3 separate regions of the Homo sapiens genome follow, and regions 1 and 2 are each linked to region 3. Evidence: promoter capture Hi-C in human tissues and cell types (Jung and others, 2019). All regions are on one chromosome and are shown on one strand. Each heading gives the region's core, a stretch centred on a gene start or on the middle of the fragment in contact. The rest is flanking DNA. Distances are from core to core; before and after follow the strand shown. Region 1 holds the start of BCR (BCR activator of RhoGEF and GTPase). Region 2 overlaps BCR (BCR activator of RhoGEF and GTPase). Region 3 holds the start of SLC2A11 (solute carrier family 2 member 11).

Region 1 (3,983 bases), core at 1,049-3,548, 680 kb before region 3:
TCAAGACCAGCCTGGCCAACACAGTGAAACCCCGTCTCTACTAAAAATACAAAAAACTAGCTGGGCGTGATGGCAGGCGCCTGTAATTCCAGCTACTTGGGAGGCTGAGGCAGCAGAATCACTTGAACCCAGGAGGCAGAGGTTGCGGTGAGCAGAGATCACTCCACTGCACTCCAGCCTGGGCAACAGTGTGAGACTCCGTCTCAAAAAAAAAAAAAAATAGGCCACTGAGGATGAGAGCACTGCTCAGTATGGCACTACTGGGATTCCAGCCCCTTTAGTGGCCAGGGCATCATTTGCATCTCAGTTTCCTCACATGCAAAATGGGCTATTTGCAGCCTGATGGGAAGGGGATGAGAAGGTCCGCTGGGTCCAAGGGACCAGGATGGCAGGAGGTTAGCAAGGCCTGCAGAGGGCAGCAGTGAGCTGCGCACCGCCCACCCAGCCTAGAAACTGGGGCCCATGGGTTTTCCAGGGCAGGAATGTTCTCCAGGGGCACTAATATTAACAGGCAATCACGAAATCGACCCCTACACACCATTTATCAGGTTGTGTTTTATGTTTGCCCCATCTGGGCATTTTATGCAGGATGCTCTCAACATTTTGTACCGTGGCCCACAGGACTGGGTGGAAGACAGGACAGCTCAGAGCAGGGAGTGAAACAAAATCTTTGATGGTTCTCTAGGGAAGCCTGGAAATCTGAGACAGGGCAAAGAGCAGGGAGTCTGATGAGCACAAAATTAAAATACCCAAACCAGCCTGCCGGGTCAGGGGAAAAGGAAGCAGGATTGGGCACATGAAGAACAGATGACAAAACTGAGGCTCAGAGAGGCTGAGAGAGACACTGCTGAGGTCACACAGCCAGGAGTCGGCAGGAAGCCCTGAACCCAAGCAGGGCTGGCCTGGCTACTAGCCTGGGCTCAGTCCTTTAGATTGGACTTCAAAGTATCTGCTCCAGATGACGCTGGCATTGGGAGGAGGGCATGATAATCCCTAACATCCACACAGGGACAACAGCACTTGGAGGCAGATGTGCTTCTCACTTCAAGGAAACTGAGGCAGAGAGGGAGAGGTGGTCAGGACTCAAGCCCAGTAATTCATTTGCCAAATCCTGTTTCCTTTTCCCCCAACCCAGCGGGCTGGTTTGGGTATTTTCAGTTTGTGCCCATCAGAGTCCCTGCAGAGTGCTCTCCACTGTGTCTCAGATCTCTGTGTCCCCAGAGAACCATCAAAGGTTTTGTTTCACTCCCTGCTCTGGGCTGTCTTCCACCCAGCCCTGTGAACCTCAGTGCAGGTTGGCCGCCCCCTTAGAGGGAGGCTAATCAGGGAAGTTCTGAGTCAGGTCGTCCTGGAAAAACTACATTGACCTCTGGAGCTCAAGAGAGGCCAGGGGACAAACACATGGCTCAGCACACAGGAAGGCAGGTGTGGGTATTGAGTGACCTGAGGGAGAAATCCCTATTTATCATCCATCATGTGGTCCTGCTGTGACAAACCCGTGTGGCAGCCACCCACAGCAGATCCACAACGTGAGAGGCCCGCTGAAACAAGGGTGCTGGCATTGGTTACTCAGCCTGGCCCTCCCTGCCTTGCGGGGTGACCTGCCTGGTCCTGGCCTCTCTGTGAGTTGGGCCCTGCTGGGTGGTCCCTAGTGTGCCCAGCCCTGAGGCTGGTGAGAGGCCAGGCTGTGAGGTGTGAGGAACTTACCTGCGTCTCCATGGAAGGTGCCCTCCGCATCGTTGGGCCAGATCTGCCTGGTCTTGCAGATGCCCACGATGGTGGCCTCTGACACGACGACTGGGCAGTGCCGGTGACGCTTATGGCACTGCGGCGTGGTAGGGGCAGAGGGGGGAGGTTGCTTCTGTCGGAGGACTGCTGCGAGTTCTGCCAGAGAGAGCAGCTCTTGTCCCGGAACATGAGGTAGGTGGTGGGGCTTGGGGACACGCGGCTGGACTGGCCGGAGAAGTCCTCCTGGCCGGAGGGGAGCCAAGTGTTCCTGTTCCAGGACTGCAGAACTGGCCCAGACCTCTGTATTGGAAAGGTCTTTATGGACCAGGGAGTCCGGTGTCTTTTTTACGGGGGACCCCTGGGCTGCGAGTTGCACAGTCCAATTCGCTGTTGTTAGGGCCTCAGTTTCCCAAAAGGCACAGGGACGGGGGGAGGGTGGCGGCTCGATGGGGGAGCCGCCTCCAGGGGGCCCCCCCGCCCTGTGCCCACGGCGCGGCCCCTTTAAGAGGCCCGCCTGGCTCCGTCATCCGCGCCGCGGCCACCTCCCCCCGGCCCTCCCCTTCCTGCGGCGCAGAGTGCGGGCCGGGCGGGAGTGCGGCGAGAGCCGGCTGGCTGAGCTTAGCGTCCGAGGAGGCGGCGGCGGCGGCGGCGGCACGGCGGCGGCGGGGCTGTGGGGCGGTGCGGAAGCGAGAGGCGAGGAGCGCGCGGGCCGTGGCCAGAGTCTGGCGGCGGCCTGGCGGAGCGGAGAGCAGCGCCCGCGCCTCGCCGTGCGGAGGAGCCCCGCACACAATAGCGGCGCGCGCAGCCCGCGCCCTTCCCCCCGGCGCGCCCCGCCCCGCGCGCCGAGCGCCCCGCTCCGCCTCACCTGCCACCAGGGAGTGGGCGGGCATTGTTCGCCGCCGCCGCCGCCGCGCGGGCCATGGGGGCCGCCCGGCGCCCGGGGCCGGGCTGGCGAGGCGCCGCGCCGCCGCTGAGACGGGCCCCGCGCGCAGCCCGGCGGCGCAGGTAAGGCCGGCCGCGCCATGGTGGACCCGGTGGGCTTCGCGGAGGCGTGGAAGGCGCAGTTCCCGGACTCAGAGCCCCCGCGCATGGAGCTGCGCTCAGTGGGCGACATCGAGCAGGAGCTGGAGCGCTGCAAGGCCTCCATTCGGCGCCTGGAGCAGGAGGTGAACCAGGAGCGCTTCCGCATGATCTACCTGCAGACGTTGCTGGCCAAGGAAAAGAAGAGCTATGACCGGCAGCGATGGGGCTTCCGGCGCGCGGCGCAGGCCCCCGACGGCGCCTCCGAGCCCCGAGCGTCCGCGTCGCGCCCGCAGCCAGCGCCCGCCGACGGAGCCGACCCGCCGCCCGCCGAGGAGCCCGAGGCCCGGCCCGACGGCGAGGGTTCTCCGGGTAAGGCCAGGCCCGGGACCGCCCGCAGGCCCGGGGCAGCCGCGTCGGGGGAACGGGACGACCGGGGACCCCCCGCCAGCGTGGCGGCGCTCAGGTCCAACTTCGAGCGGATCCGCAAGGGCCATGGCCAGCCCGGGGCGGACGCCGAGAAGCCCTTCTACGTGAACGTCGAGTTTCACCACGAGCGCGGCCTGGTGAAGGTCAACGACAAAGAGGTGTCGGACCGCATCAGCTCCCTGGGCAGCCAGGCCATGCAGATGGAGCGCAAAAAGTCCCAGCACGGCGCGGGCTCGAGCGTGGGGGATGCATCCAGGCCCCCTTACCGGGGACGCTCCTCGGAGAGCAGCTGCGGCGTCGACGGCGACTACGAGGACGCCGAGTTGAACCCCCGCTTCCTGAAGGACAACCTGATCGACGCCAATGGCGGTAGCAGGCCCCCTTGGCCGCCCCTGGAGTACCAGCCCTACCAGAGCATCTACGTCGGGGGCATGATGGAAGGGGAGGGCAAGGGCCCGCTCCTGCGCAGCCAGAGCACCTCTGAGCAGGAGAAGCGCCTTACCTGGCCCCGCAGGTCCTACTCCCCCCGGAGTTTTGAGGATTGCGGAGGCGGCTATACCCCGGACTGCAGCTCCAATGAGAACCTCACCTCCAGCGAGGAGGACTTCTCCTCTGGCCAGTCCAGCCGCGTGTCCCCAAGCCCCACCACCTACCGCATGTTCCGGGACAAAAGCCGCTCTCCCTCGCAGAACTCGCAACAGTCCTTCGACAGCAGCAGTCCCCCCACGCCGCAGTGCCATAAGCGGCACCGGCACTGCCCGGTTGTCGTGTCCGAGGCCACCATCGTGGGCGTCCGCAAGACCGGG
Region 2 (4,533 bases), core at 1,954-4,453, 650 kb before region 3:
GAGCCGGTGGCTTAGGTCTGGTGGTCTGTCCCTGACTGCACTTTTTTCAGAGCTGTTTTGGTTTGAAGCTCAAAGCGGGCTTTTTATTTATTTATTTAGAGACAGGGTCTTACTCCGCTGCCCAGGCTGGTGCAGTGGCACACTCACAACTCACTGCAGCCTCAACCTCCTGGGCTCAAACAGTCCCCTCATCTCAGCATCTCAAGTAGCTGGGACTACAGGCATGCACCACCATCCCCCCAGGTAATTTTTAAATTTTTTGTAGAGACAAGGTTTCACTATGTTGCCCAGGCTACAAGAGGACTTTAACTTTTTTTTAATTAAAAAAAAATTTTTTTTGAAACAAGGTCTCACTCTGTCGCCCAGGCTGGAGTGCAGTGGTGCGATCATGGCTCACCGCAGCCTTGACCTCTCCAGGCTCAGGCGATTCTCCCACCTCAGCCTTCTGAGTAGCTGGGACGGCAGGCACATGCCACCATGCCCAGCTAATTTTTGTATTTTTTTGTAGAGATGAGGTGTCTTCATGTTGCCCGTGCCAGTCTCAAACTCCTGGGCTCAAGCGATCCACCCGCCTTGGCCTCCCAAAGTGCTGGGACTCCAGGCATGAGCCACCATGCCTGGCCAAGGGGGCTTTTCAAAGGCTGGGCTGGGCTGTTCATTTGGAAAAAAGGTTGGGGATGTTTTCACTTCACCAGGACTTCTGCCAGTCAGCAGGCTGGTACATTAGGAGCCCAAGTTTTGCCTGGTGCTGGTGGACGGGTCTAGGCCTGAGAAGCCGTAGTCTCCTAGTGCTTGGTGCTGCTAAGCCCAAAGAACAGAGTGGTTACAGGAAATGGAACATTTAGTCTGGCAGAGGCCAAGGGCAGCAGGTCCCTACTCTGGCTGCCCATGTAGTTAAAAAGTCACACACGTGCGCAGCTGGTCTGATTAATGAGTTTGTTTTTTGATGTCACAGTTTCTGGGCACAGCAGAGCTGGCTCCTCTGCTTGGGGTCTCCTCAGGCTGCAGTTGAGGTGTTGGCCGGGGCTGCATTCCCTGCTGGGGCTTGGGGTTCTCTTCTAAGCTCACCTGGGTTGCTGGCAGTGCTTACCTCCTGGCAGTTGTAGGACTGAGTCCCCATTTCCTTGCTGGCATTGGCTGGAGGCCCCTTCTAGAGCCCACCCTGTTCATAGGCAGTTCACACACAGCTGTTTGCTTTTCTCTTCTCAGTGAATCTGGTTTTTTTGTTTTTTCGTTTTTGAGACGGAGTCTTGCTCTGTTCCCCAGGCTGGAGTGCAGTGGGGCGATCTTGGCTCACTGCAAGCTCCGCCTCCTGGGTTCATGCCATTCTCCTGCCTCCGCCTCCTGAGTAGCTGGGACTACAGGCACCCACCACCATGCCCGGCTAATTTTTTGTATTTTTAGTAGAGGTGGTTTCACCATGTTAGCCAGGATGGTCTCGATCTCCTGACCTTGTGATCCGCCCTCCTCGGCCTCCCAAAGTGCTGGGATTACAGGTGTGAGCCACCGCGCCCGGCCAAGTCTGGGTTTTTTGAAAAGCTCCCTGGGTGACTTGACTCTAGCCCTCAGGGTTCAGACCCTTCGGTTTCTGGGAGTCCGTGGACATTGGCTGCAGGTTTTGAAAGGCTGGCATCTCAAGAGGGGAGCAGATGAAGAGTCATGGGGAAGGTTCCTGTGCAGTATGAGGAAGGTTTAATTTTCTTGCCAACTTTTGAGATAATTATGTGTAAATCTTTTTTATATAGTTAAGATGTTGCTGTGTAGTTGGGTGTCCGGCCTTAGTTAATGTGAACGTTTCCATGTATTAGTAAATCTTGTGTAAATATTATTTTTAAGGGCCATATTATTACTTTGTAGTGGAGTTATGGTTTAATTTATCTAATTTTAATGAATTTTTGTTGGACATTTCGAGTGGTTCTTTATGCAGCTGGTTAGTATAATGTTTCAGTGAACTTCTCTCTCTTTTTTTAAATAGCTTCACTGAGGTAATTCATGTACCATACAATTCAACCCTTTAAAGCAGCCAATTTAATGGGTTTTGGTATATTACATTATTACTTTTTAAAAATTATGGTGAAATATATATACAAATTTGACATTTTAACCACTAAAAATTAAAATTATGGTAAAATAACATAAAATTTACCATTTTTAGCCGCACAGCTAAATGGTGTTAAGTATATTCCTGTCATGCACCCATCACTATCATCCATCTCCAGAACTCTTTCCACCTTGCAAAACTGAAAATCTGTACTCATTTCCACCCATTAAAGAACAGTGCTTCTTCCCCCACGCCCAGTCCCTGTAACCACCATTCTACTTTCTATCTCTAGGAATCTGACGACTCTAGAAACTTTATTTAAGTGGAATCATGCAGTATTTGTCTTTTTGTGACTTATTTCACATCATGTCCTCAAAGTTCATCTGTGTTTTACTGTGTTTCAGAACCCCTTCCTTTTTAAGCTTGAGTAATAATTCAATTGTTTGTGTGTGTGTGTGTGTGTGTGTGTGTATATATATATATATTTAATCTATCATTCATTGATGGGCACTTGGGTCATTTTAACCATTTTTAAATGTACAGTTCAGTGGCATTAATTACATTCAGTGAATTTTTTTGTGGGGTTTTTTTTTTGTTTGTTTTTGAAACAGGATCTCGCTCTGCCATCTCACTCTGCATCTGCACTGGTGCAGTAAGAGCTCACTGCAGCCTTGACCTCCTGTGATCCTCCCACCTCAGCCTCCTGAGTAGCTGGGACTACAGATGCACATCACTACACTCATCTGTCGTTTTTTTTCTTTTTGTAGAGACAGGGTCTTGCTGTGTTGCCCAGGCTGGTCTTAAACTCCTGGGCTCAAATGATCTGCCCGCCTTGGCTTCTCCTGAAGTGCTGGGATTACAGGTGTGAGCCACCATACTTGGCCAAGTGAATACCTTTTTATATGAGTTTCTGCCCATGATGGGGTGGGCCTCTGTCACTGGATTTACCAGGTCAGAGAGGTGGATGGTCTTAAGACCCTTGATGGCTGCTGCCAGGTCACCTTCCAGAAATCCTGCCCCAGTTTACCCTTGGCTTTATGGTTAACTGCCTGCTCTTTTTTGACTTTTTTCTTGCCTCCTTCTGTTCACAGGATTGTACTGAAGCAGTTCCATCAGGTGCTAAAACGTCTGAGCTGTGTGGGGCCTTACCCTCCAAAAATCCAAAATTGTGATGTGGGATTTTCATTCCAGAGAAGCAGAATCTGAGATTAAGGTTTGCTTTGGGTCAGAGGAGTCTGTGCTAGACTGGGCTCCACGGTAATTCCCGATTCCTTGATGACCCTCGAAACAGTCCAGCTTTGATAGGGAGGAGCCCTGAGCTGGGGTCACACTGGTCCACTCTCTCATTCAGGAAGTTTCCTGAGGCCACTGGCTGTGTGACACTCAGTTCTTTGTCAGCGCTGTGGTTCTTGGTAGGGAAAGAACTTACTGTCCCCTTGTCTGTTGTGAAGTTTGCTAGTTTATTGCTGTTGTGGGCTACTTGTAACTGAATCTGAAAAGCATTTTGGCTTCTCTTCTGTGCATCGTGAGTTAGGTCTGCCAGATAGCATTGTCCAGTTAATTCTGGCTCATGGAGTTCCTGCTTGGCTTTCATTGAAGCTCCAAGGAAGCAGAAGGCCATGGCAGAAAAGGATTTCTACAAAGGGAAAGGGACTTGCATGGCTGCACTTGGCTGGCAGAAGCTGGGCTGGGACGGGAGGACAAACACCTCCCTGTGCAGGCAGTGGGTTCAGATGGTCTTGGCTGGAAGGAGGGCAGATAATGGTGAGACCACGTTTGGAGGGAGGGCAGCATGGTGTCATGGGCTTGGGGAGGAAAGGAGAGGAATGGCCCCTTCTTCAGCACTGACTAGTCGTCCTGCACCGTGGAGGGTGTTCCGTCTTATTTTCCAGCGCTCACAACTAGGAGCCAGCAGTTCAGTTTTAGCCATCCCAGCTCATGGATTATGGAGCTGGGACCCACGCTTGCTCCTCCTCTTGCTCTGCGTTGCCCATCTTAGCTGTGCCCTTGGCCGCCACTCTGACTCCAGTGAATCACGTAGACTCCTTGGGCCTCTGAATTCCTGTCCGTAAATGATGAAGCTGAATGGCAGCATTTTTAAGATCCGTTAGTTTTGTGATTCTAAATAAAATTAAGTCATGTTGCTCTGAGTTCCCAGAAAATTATTTTAAGATCCGTTAGTTTTGTGATTCTAAATAAAATTAAGTCATGTTGCTCTGAGTTCCCAGCAAATTATTTGGAAATCCCTCTTGGTGGATGTCCCAAAGCAGCCTTCCTGTAGGATCCTGGTTGTGTCTGGCTTCCTGCAGTAATGTGGATTGGGGTGGATTGGCCTCTGTGTGCACCCTTAATGGGAACCAGGACACTGCTTTGCTGGCTGATTTGTTGTCCTCCCTTACTGCCCACTGGCCAGTCTACAGGTCACCACCAGGACTGGAACAGATTTCAGAGGCCGTGCAGGTTTCATCTGGGGCAACGTGCCAAAGTGCAGA
Region 3 (4,137 bases), core at 161-2,660:
TAACAGATTAAAGGAGAATACCCATATGATCATCTTAATAGATGCACGAAAAGCATGCAATAAAATACCTATTTATTATAACTGCTAATATTTTGTGTTTTTCCTTAAAAATGCAGTGTTTTTAGGAATTAAAGTTCAGAGCAGCAAAAGTCAAACAAAAACCAAGTCTGAGCAATAGAGCTACTACAGTGCCCATCACAGTGTCTGCTCAGGTGACTTCTTAAGGTCATGTCCAGCTCTATGTTTCTGTGACCACAAATAGCATCTTTGGCAAGTCTAGTTTCAGTTGGTCTTTGTCCAGCTCCTGGATTCCTCCATGCAGGGCCTGAGAAGCCCTGAGGGATAAAAGATTAATCCGGTTCAGTGGACTCTGTGGTTCCTCAACTCCAAGTGCCCCCAGCATAAGTCGGACCTGCCTCTCACGCAATGGATCCCCTGGCGGCAACCCGAGACCGGTTCTCCTACCCGCATTCCGCCAAGTCTCTCGCTCTGCCCAGGACGCACAGATGAGAGCGCTCCGAAGACTGGTGGGTCTATCTTTCGGTCTTTCCTAATTTTCCCGTCCTCTGGGGAAAGGTCGGGGATACCTGAACCAAAGTGTGTGTGTGTGGGGGGGGGGGGGTGTAGGTGGGGCGTGCATAGATGTGCACAACCAAGGGCTTGGCCCTCCGGAGAACGCCCAGGGGCAGTGGCCTCCGAGGTTCTGGCGGCCGGCAGTGGCGACCGGCGCAGGGAATCGCGCAGGGTTGCGGCTGAGGTCAGACCAGCGAGAGACAGAGACCCGCAGACATTTAGTCCAGAGACTGTAGCAAAGGAGGGGGACGAGGGGCCAGAGCCGGAATTTCGGGGGAGGACTTGGGAGCGCGGCGACCAGAGTCGCTTGCTGGCACTTGCGAGGGCGAATGCAGGGGCTTGGCCGAGATGACCTTGGACCAGAGCTCCCTTCCGGCCTGCAGAGATGAGCTTGGGGCTTAGCCGAGTAAGGAGTGAGCGGCTTTTCAGCCTCAGTGCTGCGGCAGAGGCGGATGGAGGATGAACTGGAGCCGTCCTTACGGCCTCGGACGCAGGTGAGCTCCCAGCGGCGGCGACAAACCCCGCGGCGGTGACCCCAAACCCCCCCCCCGCGGCGGCGACTCCCCCCCAACACGCTGGGGCGAACTCCCCAGCACCCCCAGCCCTTCTTAAAAACGCTGAGTCCGCGCATGCGCCTCAGGCGCCCTCCGCGACACTCTAGCGGCTCTGCGCTTCACTGCGCCTGAGCTTGAGTCTCAGGCCTTAGTCCCGGCCATCGTTTAGCGTTGCGCGAACCCTCAGCTGGTGCGGCCGCTCTCAATACCCACTGCGCTTGCGCTACAGCTTCGTCTCGACGGGTTTGCTCCTCTCAAACGCTCACTGCGCGTGCGCTAGCGCCTCTTTCACCACTGGGCGCTGCGCGCTGCCCTTCCCTCCGCGCACAGGCTGCCGGCTCACCGCTTGCTAATGGCAGCCGGGGTCTCCCTGGGACAGCAAGACCTCCGCTCAGGCCCCTCTTTCGAATGCTCCACGCCCTCCTGCGATCTAGAATGGTATGAATTCTCATACTTGCCCAGACCAGGCGTTTCAGATGAGGGATTGCGGACCTGAGTGAACTGCGCAGGTGCAGCCACCTGGGAGGCTTAACTAAGTCGTCAAATGTTCAAAAATATCGTGCTTGTATGTACAGTGGCGTTAGGTGCTAGGCTCAGATGTGCATAGGCAGGTGTTTACGCCCAGGGTCGGCCTGTGGGCCAGAGCAAGGTTGCTGGACCCTGGCATCCCAGCCCCCAGAGATGCTAAATCCTCTGCCGATCAGCCCTGACCTCAGAGGCAGTAAGCCCTCCGAGCGCTGCAATCCTGACTGCTCGCCCCCTCCCGAGACTGTTTCCCACCCCCGCCTCTTTCCTCCTCATGCTCCCTCAGCTCTGACCTGACGTCCTGCCTCACAGAGGGAAAGGGCGCAGCCAGAGGAGAGCGCCCGCACTGCACTGCCCACCGCTTCTAGGGGTTCCTTCCCAATCTGGACTGATTTCTTTAGGTATTTGCATGGCACATTCCCTCACCTCCTTTGTCTTGATTTGCACTTGTATTCCTTGACAGCCTTATTTAAAATAGCACCAACTAAGGTGGGAGGATCGCCCAGGAGTTCGAAGCTGCAGGGATCTAATAGGATCTCACCACTGCACTCCAGCGTGGGCGACGTAGCGAGACCTTGTCTCTAAAAAATAAAAATAAAATAAAATAAAATAAAATAGCACCACCTGGTCCAAACACTTCCTACGCCCCTTCACTGCTTTAAGTCTCTGTAGCACCAGCTGATGTACTATATATTTTGCTTGTTCATTTTGCGATTGCTTGTCTTTCTCTGCTGGAAGGAAAGCTCTGACAGCTCATGGATTTTGTCTGTTGTTCACTGCTGTATCCCAACACCTAGAACAGTAGGATTATTGACCATAATAGGGAGGCAATAAATCTTTGTTTGCTGAATTAATGGTCCCTATCGTAGCTAATGTCTGAATGCTTACCATGACCAGGCACGGTATAGGCAATCTCCATGCATGATCTCATTGAATTCAACGATTTCCTGTAGTCTTAGAGACCTGTCAATATCTCCTGCTACATGAGCTCAGCTGCCATCAAGCACTGTGTTCGCTGCTTCCTTCACATCTGCTGTCTTAAGGGAGCTCTCACTTCCATGCGGCCCCCGTGGAGCTGTAATTTGGCCTCAATGGGACCAGATGCCAGGTTTCTCACCTGGCTTCTTCCTAAGGCTTCCAGCCTTAGAGAAAGTTACTTAGGCCTTATTGGAACTATGGGCAGCCAGGGCCCCTGTCACCAACCTGTCTCCAGACCTATGGCAAGGCCTTCAGCAGGATTCTGCCCTCCAGAGCCACTTCCTCTGCTCCCCCAGCCTCCAGTGCAGTATCTCACTGAATGGTGAAAGCACAGCTGTCTCTTTCCCAGCTGTATCTTGCCCCCCAGCACACTTCCTGGCTGAGATAAACATTCAGCATTTTTTTTTTTTTGAGATGGAGTCTCACTCTGTTGCCCAGGCAGGAGGGCAGTGGCGCGATCTGGGCTTACTGCAACCTCCGCCTCCCTCCCGGATTCAAGCAATTCTGCCTCAGCCTTCTGAGTAGCTGGGATTACAGGTGCCCACCACCAAGCCCGGCTAATTTTTGTATTTTTAGTAGAGACAGGGTTTTACCATGTTGGCCAGGCTGGTCTCGAACTCCTGACCTCAAGTGGTCTGCCCACCTCGGCCTCCCAAAGTGCAGGGATTGCAGGTGTGGGCCACGACATCCGGCCAACACTCAGTATTTGACTAATAAATGAATAAATAGTCCGTAGGTTCTGGAAACTTCAGAAAACCTTAGCCAAACATCCTTCTGTCATGAAAATTGTATCAAAGTTTTCAAAAATAATACATTTAATTCTACAGAACAATTTGCCAGAACAAGAAAGGCAGTATTTTTTGGGGGAAGATATCAACGATTCAATTTTTGTAAAGTCAACTACTTTGCAAATATCTAGGAAAATACCTGAGGGAAGGAGTTAATTGTTGTGCCTTTGGAGGAGTGGAGAACTTTCAGTATATACTGAATTTTCAAAAATCTTAACAAACGTGTCATTTTGTAATTAAAAATCACAAAAGAGTGGGCTGGGTATGGTGGCTCACGCCTGTAATCCTACCACTTTGGGAGGCCAAGGCGAGTGTATCGCTTGAGCTCAGGAGTTTGAAACCAGCCTGGGCAATATGGTGAAATCCCATCTCTACAAAAAAATTAGCCCAGCATGATGGTGTGTGCCTGTAGTCCCAGCTACTTGGGGGGCTGAGGTGGGAGGATCGCTTGAGCCCAGGAGGTTGAGGCTGCAGTGAATCAAGATTGCGACACTGCACTCCAGCCTGGGTGACAAAATGAGACCTTGTCTCAAAAAACAAAACAGAAAATCACCAAAGGAGAAAGATAAATACTTCTGTGAATCCCTAAGACGACCTCAACTACAGGTCGGGTGCGGTGGCTCACGTCTGTAATCTCAGCAATTTGGAGGCTGAGGTGGGCAGATCACTTGAGGTCAGGAGTCTCTACTAAAAATACAAAAATTAGCTGGGTGTGGTGG

Evidence for each region. The method cuts DNA at HindIII sites, captures the fragments that hold promoters and counts their contacts. A contact is called where the count stands out against the background at its distance.
Region 1: the fragment with the promoter of BCR here is called in contact with the fragment with the promoter of SLC2A11 in region 3 in 1 of the 25 tissues and cell types used here (adrenal gland).
Region 2: a fragment that was not itself captured here is called in contact with the fragment with the promoter of SLC2A11 in region 3 in 1 of the 25 tissues and cell types used here (dorsolateral prefrontal cortex).

The regions. Positions count from the first base shown.
Region 1 is chr22:23,178,211-23,182,193 of GRCh38, forward strand. It overlaps BCR (BCR activator of RhoGEF and GTPase), which reads left to right and starts at 2,299. Exons shown (of 23, transcript NM_004327.4): 1 at 2,299-3,983. The coding sequence starts at 2,751. It also overlaps a transcript of RSPH14 not described here and the pseudogene BCRP8. RefSeq lists an enhancer at 1,219-2,029 and silencers at 2,150-2,389, 2,460-2,729, 2,750-2,829. The HindIII fragment of the contact is 16,176 bases long and covers 1-3,983 here.
Region 2 is chr22:23,200,237-23,204,769 of GRCh38, forward strand. All of the region lies in intron 1 of BCR (BCR activator of RhoGEF and GTPase), which reads left to right. Among named protein-coding and RNA genes, the nearest start is that of BCR, 22 kb to the left of the region's middle. RefSeq lists a silencer at 1,105-1,281. The HindIII fragment of the contact is 4,691 bases long and covers 859-4,533 here.
Region 3 is chr22:23,856,465-23,860,601 of GRCh38, forward strand. It overlaps SLC2A11 (solute carrier family 2 member 11), which reads left to right and starts at 1,411. Exons shown (of 12, transcript NM_001024939.4): 1 at 1,411-1,565. The coding sequence starts at 1,536. The HindIII fragment of the contact is 17,543 bases long and covers 1-4,137 here.